3 separate regions of the Homo sapiens genome follow, and regions 2 and 3 are each linked to region 1. The links are contacts of gene promoters, found by promoter capture Hi-C in human tissues and cell types (Jung and others, 2019). All regions are on one chromosome and are shown on one strand. The core of a region is centred on a gene start or on the middle of the fragment in contact, and the rest is flanking DNA. Distances in the headings are between cores, read along the strand shown.

What was found. The method cuts DNA at HindIII sites, captures the fragments that hold promoters and counts their contacts. A contact is called where the count stands out against the background at its distance.
Region 2: a fragment that was not itself captured here is called in contact with the fragment with the promoter of HOXA5 in region 1 in 2 of the 25 tissues and cell types used here (dorsolateral prefrontal cortex and spleen).
Region 3: a contact is called between a fragment that was not itself captured here and the fragment with the promoter of HOXA5 in region 1, in 1 of the 25 tissues and cell types used here (aorta).

The regions. Positions count from the first base shown.
Region 1 is chr7:27,140,387-27,144,948 of GRCh38, reverse strand. HOXA5 (homeobox A5) reads left to right here and starts at 1,268. Exons shown (of 2, transcript NM_019102.4): 1 at 1,268-1,903; 2 at 2,864-3,897. The coding sequence starts at 1,342. The coding sequence ends at 3,114. All of the region lies in intron 1 of HOXA3 (homeobox A3), which reads left to right. It overlaps HOXA-AS3 (HOXA cluster antisense RNA 3), which reads right to left. Exons shown (of 3, transcript NR_038832.1): 1 at 4,410-4,562. The HindIII fragment of the contact is 16,485 bases long and covers 1-4,562 here.
Region 2 is chr7:26,656,414-26,660,975 of GRCh38, reverse strand. It overlaps a transcript of SKAP2 not described here. Among named protein-coding and RNA genes, the nearest start is that of LINC02860, 21 kb to the right of the region's middle. The HindIII fragment of the contact is 9,906 bases long and covers 1-4,562 here.
Region 3 is chr7:26,872,614-26,877,175 of GRCh38, reverse strand. No RefSeq gene overlaps it. Among named protein-coding and RNA genes, the nearest start is that of SKAP2, 10 kb to the right of the region's middle. The HindIII fragment of the contact is 6,993 bases long and covers 1-4,562 here.

The DNA of each region.
Region 1 (4,562 bases), core at 19-2,518:
TCCCGCTCCCAGCCTCCGATAGCGCCCGCGTCGCCGCCACAGCAGCGTTCAGGACCCAACGAGGGGCCCAGGGCCATGGGAGCCGCCAGAGTCCTGGCTTCCAGACGTGCCAGGGGCGCCTGCAACGCCGGGCCTCCAGCGGGGAGACTCCACTTGCCTCTCAGCTATATTTGTGATTTACTTGAGTCTTTCGGAGCCGTGGAAAATAACTACAGAGATACTAGGCACTGCCAAGGAATGCTTCCATTATCGCCCTCATTTTACTCCTGGAGGTCTAAGCAAGACCCCAGTAACCCGCCCCACGGATCCCCAGACCCCAGGCAGCCTCTGTGGCTGCAGGGAGCCTGGGCCCACTCGCTGGGTTCAAGGAGAACCCTCCGACTTGGGGCCCGGCTGGCTCGAGGAACCGGACCCTGTGATGAAGATTTTCCAGGCTGGATACGTAAGCAAATCAAATCGCAAACTAATGACACGAAAACCATATTCACACGAAAGAAAAATCGACTACGGTTATAAAAGTGTATGGAATTTGACCTCGCCTTGGAGAAACACTACACAAAAGCTATCTTTAATAGACGCCTGTCATTTAAGAGCGGCAGGGACACTGTCCCTCATGCGCTCGCAAAAACAGAGCCGTAATTGTAGCTGCTGCTGCTGCGGGCAGGATTTATTTCTCCAATTGGCTAAATGGCTTTCCCCCTTCCCCGAAGGTGATATCTGTATTTTCAAAATTCAGAGCTGCTGGCAGGACGGTCAGTACCGACCCCAACCTCGACACAAAAATAAGAGGGGCTGCAAAACGGGGGAAATAAAGTTGTTGTAAATAAAATGCAAGTCACCACCTCCCCCCAATCCTCTGCATCCTCGCCGGGCGCGCGATCGGCAGCTGACGGCCTAACAATTGGTACATCCTAATGGAACTGCGAGGGAAATGCAATAATTTTGCCATAATGGGCTGTAACCTCAATTCGACCCCGGCCCTTGCAGCCCCCGGTCGGAAGCTGGGCGATGAGCCCTGCCTCCAGCGGGTGGCGCTCGAGTCCGGCTGAACGGCGGCAACTGGCGGCGGGCACGCGCCCGGGGCGCGCGCGCCACCCCCCTCGCCTCCACCCAACTCCCCTATTAGTGCACGAGTTTACCTCTAGAGGTCATCAGGCAGGATTTACGACTGGACAACAAAAGCACGTGATTCGAAGTCGTACCCCATATTTGGGTGCCTACGTAGGAGGGAACCAAGTACATGTCCCAGTCATTTCCATAATTCATCATAAATTGTGCAAGGGTGCTATAGACGCACAAACGACCGCGAGCCACAAATCAAGCACACATATCAAAAAACAAATGAGCTCTTATTTTGTAAACTCATTTTGCGGTCGCTATCCAAATGGCCCGGACTACCAGTTGCATAATTATGGAGATCATAGTTCCGTGAGCGAGCAATTCAGGGACTCGGCGAGCATGCACTCCGGCAGGTACGGCTACGGCTACAATGGCATGGATCTCAGCGTCGGCCGCTCGGGCTCCGGCCACTTTGGCTCCGGAGAGCGCGCCCGCAGCTACGCTGCCAGCGCCAGCGCGGCGCCCGCCGAGCCCAGGTACAGCCAGCCGGCCACGTCCACGCACTCTCCTCAGCCCGATCCGCTGCCCTGCTCCGCCGTGGCCCCCTCGCCCGGCAGCGACAGCCACCACGGCGGGAAAAACTCCCTAAGCAACTCCAGCGGCGCCTCGGCCGACGCCGGCAGCACCCACATCAGCAGCAGAGAGGGGGTTGGCACGGCGTCCGGAGCCGAGGAGGACGCCCCTGCCAGCAGCGAGCAGGCGAGTGCGCAGAGCGAGCCGAGCCCGGCGCCGCCCGCCCAACCCCAGATCTACCCCTGGATGCGCAAGCTGCACATAAGTCATGGTAAAGCCAGCCTTTTTCTAAATCCACGCGACCGCGGGGACGCGGCTCTCGGTCCCCCCTCTCTTCTCTGCCGCCCTCTCCCAGTCTCTCTTGGTCTCATTTCTCCCAGCCCTGCGGAGCTCTCCTTGCCGTTCTCCCTCCCCTGCCTTCCTCCTTCCTCCTCTTCTTTGCGAGCACCCTGCGCTCACAAATAGTGGGGGAAATGGGCGTTCTCTGGGACAGTTTAGACGTTGGAAGGGGGAGGAAGCAAAAAACCCCTCTGGAACCCCACGCCTTGGGACGCGCTCCCGGGTCAGGCCAGCCGAGCAAGGCGCAGAGAGGTAGAGGATGGCTGTAGCAGCCGTGAATCGGGCTTGTCACGGCGGATAATTTATGAGGAGGGCTACGCTGGGGAAACAGCGTTACTAATTACAGCCCCCGAAAAGGGGCTTGGGGGAAAGAATCGAGGCGAGAGCCTGCAGGATTCTGAATTTTGGGGGCAGGAGGGAGAGAGAAGGAAAGGGAAGAAAAAGAAAACAGGCTCCCCAACCCTGCAGGCTGGAAACGGGAGGCGGCTCTCGGGGCTGGAACTTTGAGGGAGGGTGACCCGAAGGCCACTTGGGCGCTCAGGAAAGGGCCTTGCTTCCTGGGTTTCTGTGCGGTGGGCAGCCTGGGAGGGCTGTGCCTCCCGATCGGGGCGCCCGGGGCAGGGCGGAGGGGGCAGGAGAGGGGCCAGGGAAAGCCGGAGTCCGCCGGGACACGGCCCCAGCCTCAGATGGGCAGATTGTTCCCAGGGTCCAAATCGTATTGTTTTCTTTCTAGAAAGGAAGAGAGAAGGAAATTCGGGAGGGGTGTGCGGGCTGGTAGGCAGAACTTGTTGAGCTTTTCGCCTGGGTTCCCTGCTCATGACCCAAGCTTGTCCCCCTGGCGGACTTTGGAAGACAGGAGTTGGTGGCTAAACCGCTGACTTTTCTATTGCAGACAACATAGGCGGCCCGGAAGGCAAAAGGGCCCGGACGGCCTACACGCGCTACCAGACCCTGGAGCTGGAGAAGGAGTTCCACTTCAACCGTTACCTGACCCGCAGAAGGAGGATTGAAATAGCACATGCTCTTTGCCTCTCCGAGAGACAAATTAAAATCTGGTTCCAAAACCGGAGAATGAAGTGGAAAAAAGATAATAAGCTGAAAAGCATGAGCATGGCCGCGGCAGGAGGGGCCTTCCGTCCCTGAGTATCTGAGCGTTTAAAGTACTGAGCAGTATTAGCGGATCCCGCGTAGTGTCAGTACTAAGGTGACTTTCTGAAACTCCCTTGTGTTCCTTCTGTGAAGAAGCCCTGTTCTCGTTGCCCTAATTCATCTTTTAATCATGAGCCTGTTTATTGCCATTATAGCGCCTGTATAAGTAGATCTGCTTTCTGTTCATCTCTTTGTCCTGAATGGCTTTGTCTTGAAAAAAAATAGATGTTTTAACTTATTTATATGAAGCAAGCTGTGTTACTTGAAGTAACTATAACAAAAAAAGAAAAGAGAAAAAAAAACACACAAAAAGTCCCCCTTCAATCTCGTTTAGTGCCAATGTTGTGTGTTGCACTCAAGTTGTTTAACTGTGCATGTGCGTGGAAGTGTTCCTGTCTCAATAGCTCCAAGCTGTTAAAGATATTTTTATTCAAACTACCTATATTCCTTGTGTAATTAATGCTGTTGTAGAGGTGACTTGATGAGACACAACTTGTTCGACGTGTAGTGACTAGTGACTCTGTGATGAAAACTGTGACTCCAAGCGGTGTGTCCCTGCGTGCCTTTATAGGACCCTTTGCACGAACTCTGGAAGTGGCTCTTATAAGCGCAGCTTCAGTGATGTATGTTTTTGTGAACAAAGTTACAAATATTGTCCAAGTCTGGCTGTTTTAAGCAAACTGTGATCAGCTTTTTTTTTTTTTTTTTTTTTTTTGTATTTGTTTTTAAGGAAAAAATACTGACTGGAACAAAAAATAAACTTTCTATTGTAAGTTCTCTTGGTCTGGTTTGTGCCAAATAGTGAGCGGCTCTGTCTGCTTTTCTGTCTGTCTGTGCAGTCTTGGAAGCTGTTGGGTCTGAGGCTACCTGAGCAGATGACCTGTGCAGGGAGACCTCATACCAACACTGTCCCATCGCTTCCCTACCTCTGACCCATTGCAAAGTTCAGGGCAGAAGGTGGAAAAAGCTGTAGGCTGTTCCAAAGCCCCAGAACACCCTGTCCATCTCTGAGGAAACCAAGTTAACTTGCTGGGTACAAAAAAGAGAGAAAGAGCAAGAAAAAAGGAGAAAAAACCCAGGGCTTTGTTAGCCGCCCTCAGGCCACACAGATCCTGCCTCTTTCCTAAGGCTGTCCTAGGCCTCCACTTGCTGAAGACGCTGCTATGTCTGTCTGTGGACCCCAAACCCTCTGCCCTTAACCCATCCCAGCACCCCTTCCCCACTCTTCACCCGGGACCCAGTTGGCTTCTTTTGCTACAATTAATTTGCTACAAATTGAAGGTACTTACCCCATCCTAGCTCGATTGGGAAACTCCTCAGAGCAGCTAAAGCGCAACTAGAGATTTGCACATTTACCGACTGCTTACACTGATGCCGTCTTTCCTTTTAAAAGTTATAAAACAGTAAACTTTATAAGCCCCAGTTCCGGCTATATGACATTT
Region 2 (4,562 bases), core at 1,218-3,717, 490 kb after region 1:
GAAGATTCCATTTTCTAGTCTAGCAATTGTAATCTATAGCGTGATGTAGTACATAATTCTGGTAACATCGGATGATGTCATGGTAGTATAGAGTTAATTCTTAGCACTTCTCTTTAAAACGGTGCTTTGTGATGTGATTCCTTGATTATTTTGAACCATTAATCAATTCTATCAGCTTAAAAAATAGACACATTGTGTACCTGTTACCACTGGTTTCTAAAATCAAAGTTTCTCTTACCATCTTAACCTTACCAGTTTAAGCTGGGAAACTATTACTTTTATAATGTGTTTATATTATTATCATTACATACTCTTTGATAAAGGAAAACAATGGGACTATACTAAATTGTGGCAACTGTGATTAAAGATAAGTCTGTTTTCTAAACTTTTCCTAAGTGATTATAGTAGAGAATTTCAAGCTATAAGTATACCATCCTTTGCTTCTCCTAAAGCTATGATCTATAGCAATAAATACTCTGTATTGATACTACTTAATTTTAATGGATGTATACTGAGGCTGGAAACATATTGTAGCTTAGCATTTAGTGCCTTAATTTTTAAACAGTTTTGAAATTTTAAAAATTGATATAATTGCCTGAATATTTTGTTATTGGACCCGTTTCATGCTAGAAGATTATTCTCATTTCACATCTTTCCTAAAAATTATGTTGTTCACAATGTATTTCTACTGACACTTCATTGCTATTTTTGCATAACTGAAAATCTGTCATTTTCATTTTAGCTCAGTTTGGAAACATGAAAACCATATCAGAGCAGCATATTAAAGATTAGTATAGAAACACACAAAAAATGAAAGAGCCACATAGAGATAAATTTAGTCACATTATTCAAGTGTGCCATTTTAATCCATTAATCTGGTTTGAGGCTGCTTAAGAGAAATATTTCTCTCTGAATGAGTTTTTTCTCTTAAAAAAATGTTGAGAAGAGAAGCATCTCATCTAAAACAATTACCATGGGTTTTTTTGTTTTTTGAAGAAAAGGGTAAAGCAAGAGCCGCCCTAAACTCTGCCATAATTTATTCTTAGTCAAAAACAGATTACCATTTACACATTAGGTATTAAAAGCTAGTTATAGTGATTAAAGGTTGTCTTTCTAATGCTATGTATTAAGATACCAATACGACATTTATTTTCAAGCTATTTTGGGGCCACAGGGGAAGTTGTTTTTCTTATGAAGGGAATTCTGTATTTTACTTCATTATTTATAAGTATATATATATTTAAAACTATACACACACACATATAACTGGGAAGGGGAGAATGGGAGCTGGTTGTTTCTTTGAATCCTAATACTGTATGTCTTCTTAATGAACCTGCCGCATTGCCCAGAAAACAGCTCCCTGCAAATAAACATGCTAGAAGTGATTTAGCCACAATGTCCAGACTGTGTAAACATCTCATTATTACAATAAAATTGTCAATAAATTTACATTACTGCTCCCTTTTCAAACGTTAACCAACTTTTTCTTCACTTGATAAAAGGGCATAAATTGTATTTTTATGTGTTGGTGTTTTTGTTTTCATTACACCTCTTGCTGCACTCTAGACAAAAGACCTCAAGCCTTAATGCCCTGAGTTATTCCTGGATGAAGAAAACTCCTACAGTTGTTTATTAATGTAATGTGCTGTGTTCCTTTCACAGTGAGATGGACATGGAGCCCTCACAATCTGATCTTTAGTCACGGCATTTTTTAAAAAGCCATAAAGCCAGTAGTATTGTAGTCACTGCAGCTTTAAGAGAGACACAAAGAATTAAGGCCCTTATAATCCACTATTAGAATGGGAATTTAAGTTACATTAGAAGCAAAAGATAAAACGGCAAAATGCAATAATTTCCTTTAATAAAGATTATGTCCAGTTTTCAGAATTATGATATCACGTCGAACATAATTGTGGAATAAGCCCCCGCCCCACCAACACACGTATTTCTTATATAACTGGTACATTAACATTAGAAAAGCAGAGTGATATTGAATTCTAATGAGGTCTGGCCTATATGCTCTGCTAGGAGAAGAATGAGGATAATTCATTTGTATTCTACAAAGCACTTGGAAATCCACGGGCATCCCTGTGGCTTCAGCACGTGGTGCTGATCATCTGTTCCTACTTGGAGTTGGTGGGGGGGTGGGGGGTGGGTATTCATTGCTTTGAACAGCATCTGAGCTGGGGAAAATAGTTAACCACTTTCTTGCTAGCTGTTGTTTCCTAATGACTATTTAATATGGTTGCTCTATGCATTTGCATTACCTATTCTCTTCAAGGATCTTAAAAATTGTGATGCCTGTGTTGGTGACAGTGCACCTCTGTAGAAGCCAAACAAAGAAAACGAAGTGAAATTCAGTAGGATAAATGTGTTTTCACCATCCTCAGTAAACATGTCAGTTTTAAGTAAACAATCAGATGACAGTGAGGTATTTGTTCATTAAAAAAAAAATCTGAAAAATGCTCCATTTGATCTGATACTGGCTGTTCAGGAAAAACTGCATTCATTTGTGAGTCTTGCTGACATTCTGAGAAAACAGCCCATTTTGGAAACTTATATTTAGTAAAACCAAGGAATGAAAGATTTTAGCAAATTGCCACGTAAAATGATCTGCACAAAAAGGCATTGGGGAAGTGAGCTAAGGCCTGTGCCAAACAGATGGCACCCCCTGCTGTGTTTTTGATTGAAAAAGAAAGGTAACATTTGCAGCCACGTCAAAGAGACAGTGATCAGCTAAACAAATTGGTCTCCAAAGTACCCCATCGCTAGAGCAAACCCCGCTGCAGGGTACAAGCGAGGCTGTATTTCAAAATAATGCTATGTTTGCGTCTTTCCTAAGTGAGGGGATATGTCCCCTTTTCATGCGGCAAAGAGAAGATGAGGTCTTTGTTGAAGTCGACTGCAGTACTATCTGCAGAATAAGCAACAGACCTCAGTAGCACAATTACCCGTTTTCTCTGATCACCGCCAAATGCCTACAAATAATATTTGGGAAGACCGCAATAGCTTCTTATATATTGTTCACTTTCCTGTGTCAGGTCTCCAGAGCTTACAGAGAGGAAATTGGTATGCAGCATACAAACAAAAACAACACCAAATCATGACAAAGGCACAGTCTGAGGAGGAGAAAGAAAGAGGAGATCAGGAAAAACTCTCCTTGCACTTGAATTCAATTGCAAAATACAAACATCAAAAATGGCAAAGTGTGTGTCAGTGCGTAAGTTGGGGCGGGGGGGGCGGGGATTTTTTTTTTCTTTGGCTCATCTCAGCTGGCAGCCTTATTCCGCTTCAGTAAAGACAAGGTACAGAAATGTCCTTTGGGTGACATTCAAAACTCGATATAAATCCTCTGCTTTATGAGACTGCAGTGCAATAAATTACTTAGCCTAATTGTAGATGTAATGAATTACCATAATTAGTCATGGGCTACATTAAATTAATCAGCATGGTACATTATTTTGCTAAATTACATCTTTGCCTTCCAAAGCCACCAGTGCAGCAATCAGTGTTTTTTGCAAGAGGGGAATGATGCTATAATGAGAAGCCTTTCTGCTCCTAGAACAGTGACAGGATATGAATTTTGATGGGAAGCAGGAAGGTTTGGAAACACTGGAGTTCCAACTTGTGCCTTAAGTGTCTTTGGTTGTTAATGATACCCCAGTCCTCCTGCAGGGGAGCAGTGGGCTGTAGCTTGCGAAGGCTGTGGAAGATTCCCCTCACAGGGGAAGAAAAACACTTAGATGGTGCTTTAAGGCAAATAATATAGCTGATACAACAAGTCACAAAGCAGTGGGGTGGCAGAAAGATAATGTCTTTGAAAATATTAATAGATTTAGAATGTTCTTTTACATTGGTTGATGAGATTTATAGTTACCAGGTATTTCTTTATGATTATTATTATTATTCAGACCGTTTGGATCCAAGATAAAGCCTGTAGCTATTCTTGTTTTTTACTTAAACCTCCAGCTGTTCAAAATCTTGCTTCTGCTTCTCAGTGGGTGATCTGGAGGCAACCCACATATGATCTAAATATTATTCACTCTTCAGGAAAATCTCGGGCAGCCGTGGGGTTCATAGACTCATAATCTGGGAGTATAGGTGCTTGCTTTTGTAGAAGGTCTTTTTTTTTTGCACTGGGGCCGGAGACACATCCTGGTAGATGAACCATAGAAAGTAAGAGGTACTTCACCCATATTAACTCTTTGTATGAAATATCTTTGTAAGTTCCACTCTTTCAAAAAGCAGTGCTCATTCTCAAACCCAGTTACCTGCTCTTTACTGTCCTGTGTTGTTATGAAAGAGTTTCTGCAATAAGATTCATTGTCTTGATTCCAGAATAAGCTCTTTGGGGTTTGTATAATATTTTTGATAGTTTCTTGGTTTATTTTAAGAGAAGAGCTGTAACTGATCTGCACATCTGTATAACGGAGATTCAAGAAAGGCTTTCAGAACATATCTGTGTTTTTGTTTGTACACTTGTCTGCTCATACCAGAGGAAACCAAGTTATTATCAACTTGTTTGGAAACAGTATAACAGTGGAATGACACAGTGAACGACT
Region 3 (4,562 bases), core at 1,052-3,551, 270 kb after region 1:
ACAAATGGACTGAAGGACAGCAAAGCACATCAATGATAAATTACATAATTCTTGATGTCATCTCTTGTCCCATAGACATGTCTGTGGCAGCCCACAAATTGTAAAGACTGGGAGATGTCAACAATGCTGACTTTCTTTGTTTACCAAATTTCAGTACATAAAACCACACTAAAGTAGTCATTAAACAAAGAAGAACTGAAAGGGGAAGAGTTGATATCTGAATTATTTCAATAAAAGTATCTTAAAATTATGCTATTAGGGATGAGGGTAAAAAATTGTTTAGTATTATGAAATTAAATTAAACATGGATTTGATGGATGAATATAGGGAAAAAGTATAAAAATTAAATGGGGTTGAAATGGGGGTAGGGGTGGAATAATTTCTAAGTATTGTAATATGCCATGCAAATTGTGAGCAGATATACAAGACAGTACTTAAAGTCCTATAAAAATGTGCATATGCATGTGTGTGTTTTTCTTTTGCCTAGTAGTTGGACACTATAGAAAAAGGGAGAATTTTGAGTGCCGTTTAAATCTTTTTTTTTTTTTTTTTTGAGACAGAGTCTTGCTCTGTTGCCCAGGCTGGTGTGCAGTGGCGCAATCTTGGTTCATTGCAACCTCCACCTCCCAGGTTCAAGCAATTCTCATGCCTCAGTCTCCCAAGTAGCTGCGATTACAGGCATGTGCCACCATGCCCAGCAAATGTTTGTATTTTTAGCAGAGACGGGGTTTTGCCATGTTGGCTAGACTGGTCTCGAACTCCTGACCTCAAGTGATCTGCCCGCCTCAGCCTCCCAAAGTGCTGGGATTACAGGCATGAGCCACCGTGACCAGTATAAATCTTATTTAATCATACTCATATTGGTCTTAGTCATTTGTAAGACACTACTGTTTAATATTGACAACTTTGAAAGTCACTGAAAAAAATTAAATGGCAATTTAATGTTAACAGCTGCTTATGGTTATCAAATCCATCAAACCCCTTCATGAATATATTAAGCACAAACCCGCCGAATTACTATTGCTGAAGACAGCTTGGTATTTTAAAATTGCCTAGTGAGAATAGATGTACTATAATAATAGGAAGGACTCTGGTTACAATTTACTATTTTGTCTTTACATATAGAAAGAAATCCAGACCTGTTTTTAATTATTTAATGTTCTGGAATCTTTGCCAACCTAGTTTTTTTTTTTTTTCCAAGACGGATTCTTGCTCTGTTGCCCAGGCTGGAGTGCAGTGGCACAAGCTTGGCTCACTGCAAATGGGGGTAGTTTTTATTGTTTAGCTATAAAATGATTTATAGGAGTATATTTAGAAAATCATGTTTCATCTAAATTAATGTTGTTTAAATAGCTACAATAACAAAAACAAAATTCCTATAACAAAATAATTCATATGGGCAATGGTACAACAATTCAGTAAATAGTTCATATAGAATAAATTATGATTCAGAGGCCAAGTGCGAATCTGCCAAAGTTTAATTAGTAAGGCAGCTATGTTCTTCAGTTTCATTCTTCTAGGAGACTGTCTTTTCATTAAATGTTGATAAGGATTTTGTGGGGATCAGTGCTATCCTAAAGAGAGAGCAGGGCACACAGCATAACATATGACCATGAACATCTTGCTTGCTTTACACTGCTAGTCTTGAAACCATTATTTGGAAGGCTGATGCAGCCTGCTTTCCTTTATAATGTTTTAAATTCCAAAATACTGTCTCAATTATCTTTCATCCAAAGCCATAATATGCTTAACCTAGGTATTAAACCATTAAATCCAGGTACTAAATCATTAAACATGATTTCTCAAACCAACCTAGATCAAAGTACAAAGGAAGATAGTTACCCATCCACTCTCTCTCTAATTGGTAAAATTTCAAGGAGTGCAGGAAGAGTCATCTTTAGCAATAGGGTGGATTGGGGAAAATTAACTTGTATCAGTGGCCCTGCATTTTCCCCCTTAGGAAAGCTCAAGGACAACTTTCCCTGACTCTGTTATGAACCAAGAATAAAAATGATATATTTAGGATCACTCAATTGGGCCTCTGAGGCAGAAAGTAGAGATTTTGGTGATAAGAATTAAAGGGAGAGAATCAAAAGTTTTTATCTTTTAATGTACCTGCTCACAGTTCAAGGTAACTTCATCAAACCATCGAGGAGTAGTAAAACAATTCACATGAAGAGAAGGGATTCTGCATTAAATTTTAGGTAGTAATGAAGAATGAGAATTTTCTTGGCATGTTCCTAGTGCACATACACCTTGGGGACTAAGCCTGATAAGTAATAGAAGGCAAGAATGGGATTTGGGCCCATCTCTTCTCTGGAGATCCAGGTGGAATATAACAGCAGCCTATAAATTAAGACTAAGAGTAAGGCAGAGCCAGAGTCCAAGAGGCCTAGATGTAATAAAGACAAATATGTCTCTTTATTAAAAATAAGTACAGTAAGGACTTTGTCTCCGAACCAGGCAGGAGAAACTCAGTTACTAGAGCTAGGATGTAAGATCAGAGCCAGATTATCACGAAAGCTGACCCTTCTGATGGTTAGGTCCCTGAGCACTGAGAATCTTAGATAAAGGAAATCAATTCAGTTAAAGGGAGAAGAGGGCTGCTACCTGGGCAGGGAACCAGGTAGCCTCTGACAAGTCTGGAATGGGATGGATAGTTCTCTCACCTTATTCCTAATTTGTAGAACCCTAAAGACGTACAGCATTATGTTAATTACTCAACTCTAGTTCATATTAAATTGCTTATTCTTAAAATGATTGACCAGGGCAGCAAAGTGCCTGAGTACAGTCATGTGCCACATAATGACGCTGGTCAATGATGGACCACGTATATGACAATGGTCCCATAAGATTATAATACTGTATTTTGACTGTACCTTTTCTATGTTTAGATACACAAATACCATTGTGTTACAATGCCCATAGTATTCAGTACATTAATATGCTGTGCAGGTTTATAGCCTAGGAGCAATAAGCTATACCATCTAGCTAGATGTGTAGCAGGCTATAGATCTAGGTTTGTGTAAATACACTCTATGATGACACAGACATACACAATGACAAAATCACCTAATGACGCATTTCTCAGAATGTGTCCCTGTTGTTAAGCGATGCATGACTGTGTATGTTTGTGTGTATGGGAATGAGATGGACAGCAAATCTTGCTAACTTAGTAAATTATACTAATAAGATTAATAACAATTATGAACTAAAAACTCAAATTGTGAACTGCATCTATCAGTACCTTTGGTTCTGGTTGGGTTGTATGTCACATCTTTTCAGAGTAAATGACTTCATATGAATTCCAGTGAGAATATTTTTTCTTGTTGACTGCCACACAATGATAAACTTATACCAACTAAACATGGAAGTTTCAAATGAAAACAAGGATAATAACTTAGAAAATGAAAACAAATCTTTATTTCTAAAAATTCTTAAAAGAGCCCTTACAAGATAACTTTAGAGCCAACAGGTTTTGCATTTTGTTTAGATGGATTAGGCTGCAAAGTAAATGCAATTTCAATTGCTTAATTTATTTTATTAGTTTATTTATTTATTTTTGAGATGGAGTTTTACTCTGTCACCCAGGCTGGAGTGCAGTGGCATGATGTCAGCTCACTGCAACCTCTGCCTCCCAGGTTCAAGCAATTCTCCTGTCTCAGCCTCCCAAGTAGCTGGGACTACGGGTGCATGCCACCATGCCTGGCTAATTTTTGTATTTTTAATAGAAACGGGGTTTCAGCATATTGGTCAGGCTGGTCTCAAACTCGGCCTCAGGTGATCCACCCATCTTAGCCTCCCAAAGTGCTGGGATTACAGGCTTAAGCCACTGCGCCCAGCCTAGTTGCTTCATTTATTTAGTCCACATTTTATTTATGATAGTACAAGTGTATGGTTGGTGGCTGTCGACCTAAATTTACTAGAATCCCCTTTTCTGCATGTTTCTGGTTAGGCTAGGCCACAAAATATATTCTTTTGTAAGACTTGGAGAGCAGAAATGAAGCAGCAGTCATTTTGTAGTTCACATGTATGGTTGCTTACTGGTTGGCTCACTTCATTGGTGTAAGTCAGCAGCTGAGCCTGCAACTGCTCATTTTCTATTGGATCCTCCTTCTACTTCTCTGACTCTTGGTAAAGTGTGTGCATTTAGCTCCTTAATGAGGGACTCTGGCTTCTGAAGAACATCCATACCATCAAATGAGAGATAACTTGGGTTTCAGGTTGTGCTCATAAACTATGGCTTATACTTCTGGTTACCAGCTTGTCATGAAGTTCCTCCATCTTCCCTTTCTGATTCCCCGCTCTGTGGACTTTGAGCTCCAGCATCAGATGTAAAGATAACTGCCTTATATAAAGAGACAGTTTAACCAGCTTTCACAATTGGATAGGGTTTAATCTTTGTAACAAATTGCCATATATTATATCTCTTTCCATCTCTAGCTTCATTCTAGTAGTTTTGATTTTCTTCTTGAACTCTGACTGATAGAGAATTGGGACAGTGACAATACAAAATGAAAACAGATCTTTTGACCACCCCACCCCCCACCTCAATTGTATTG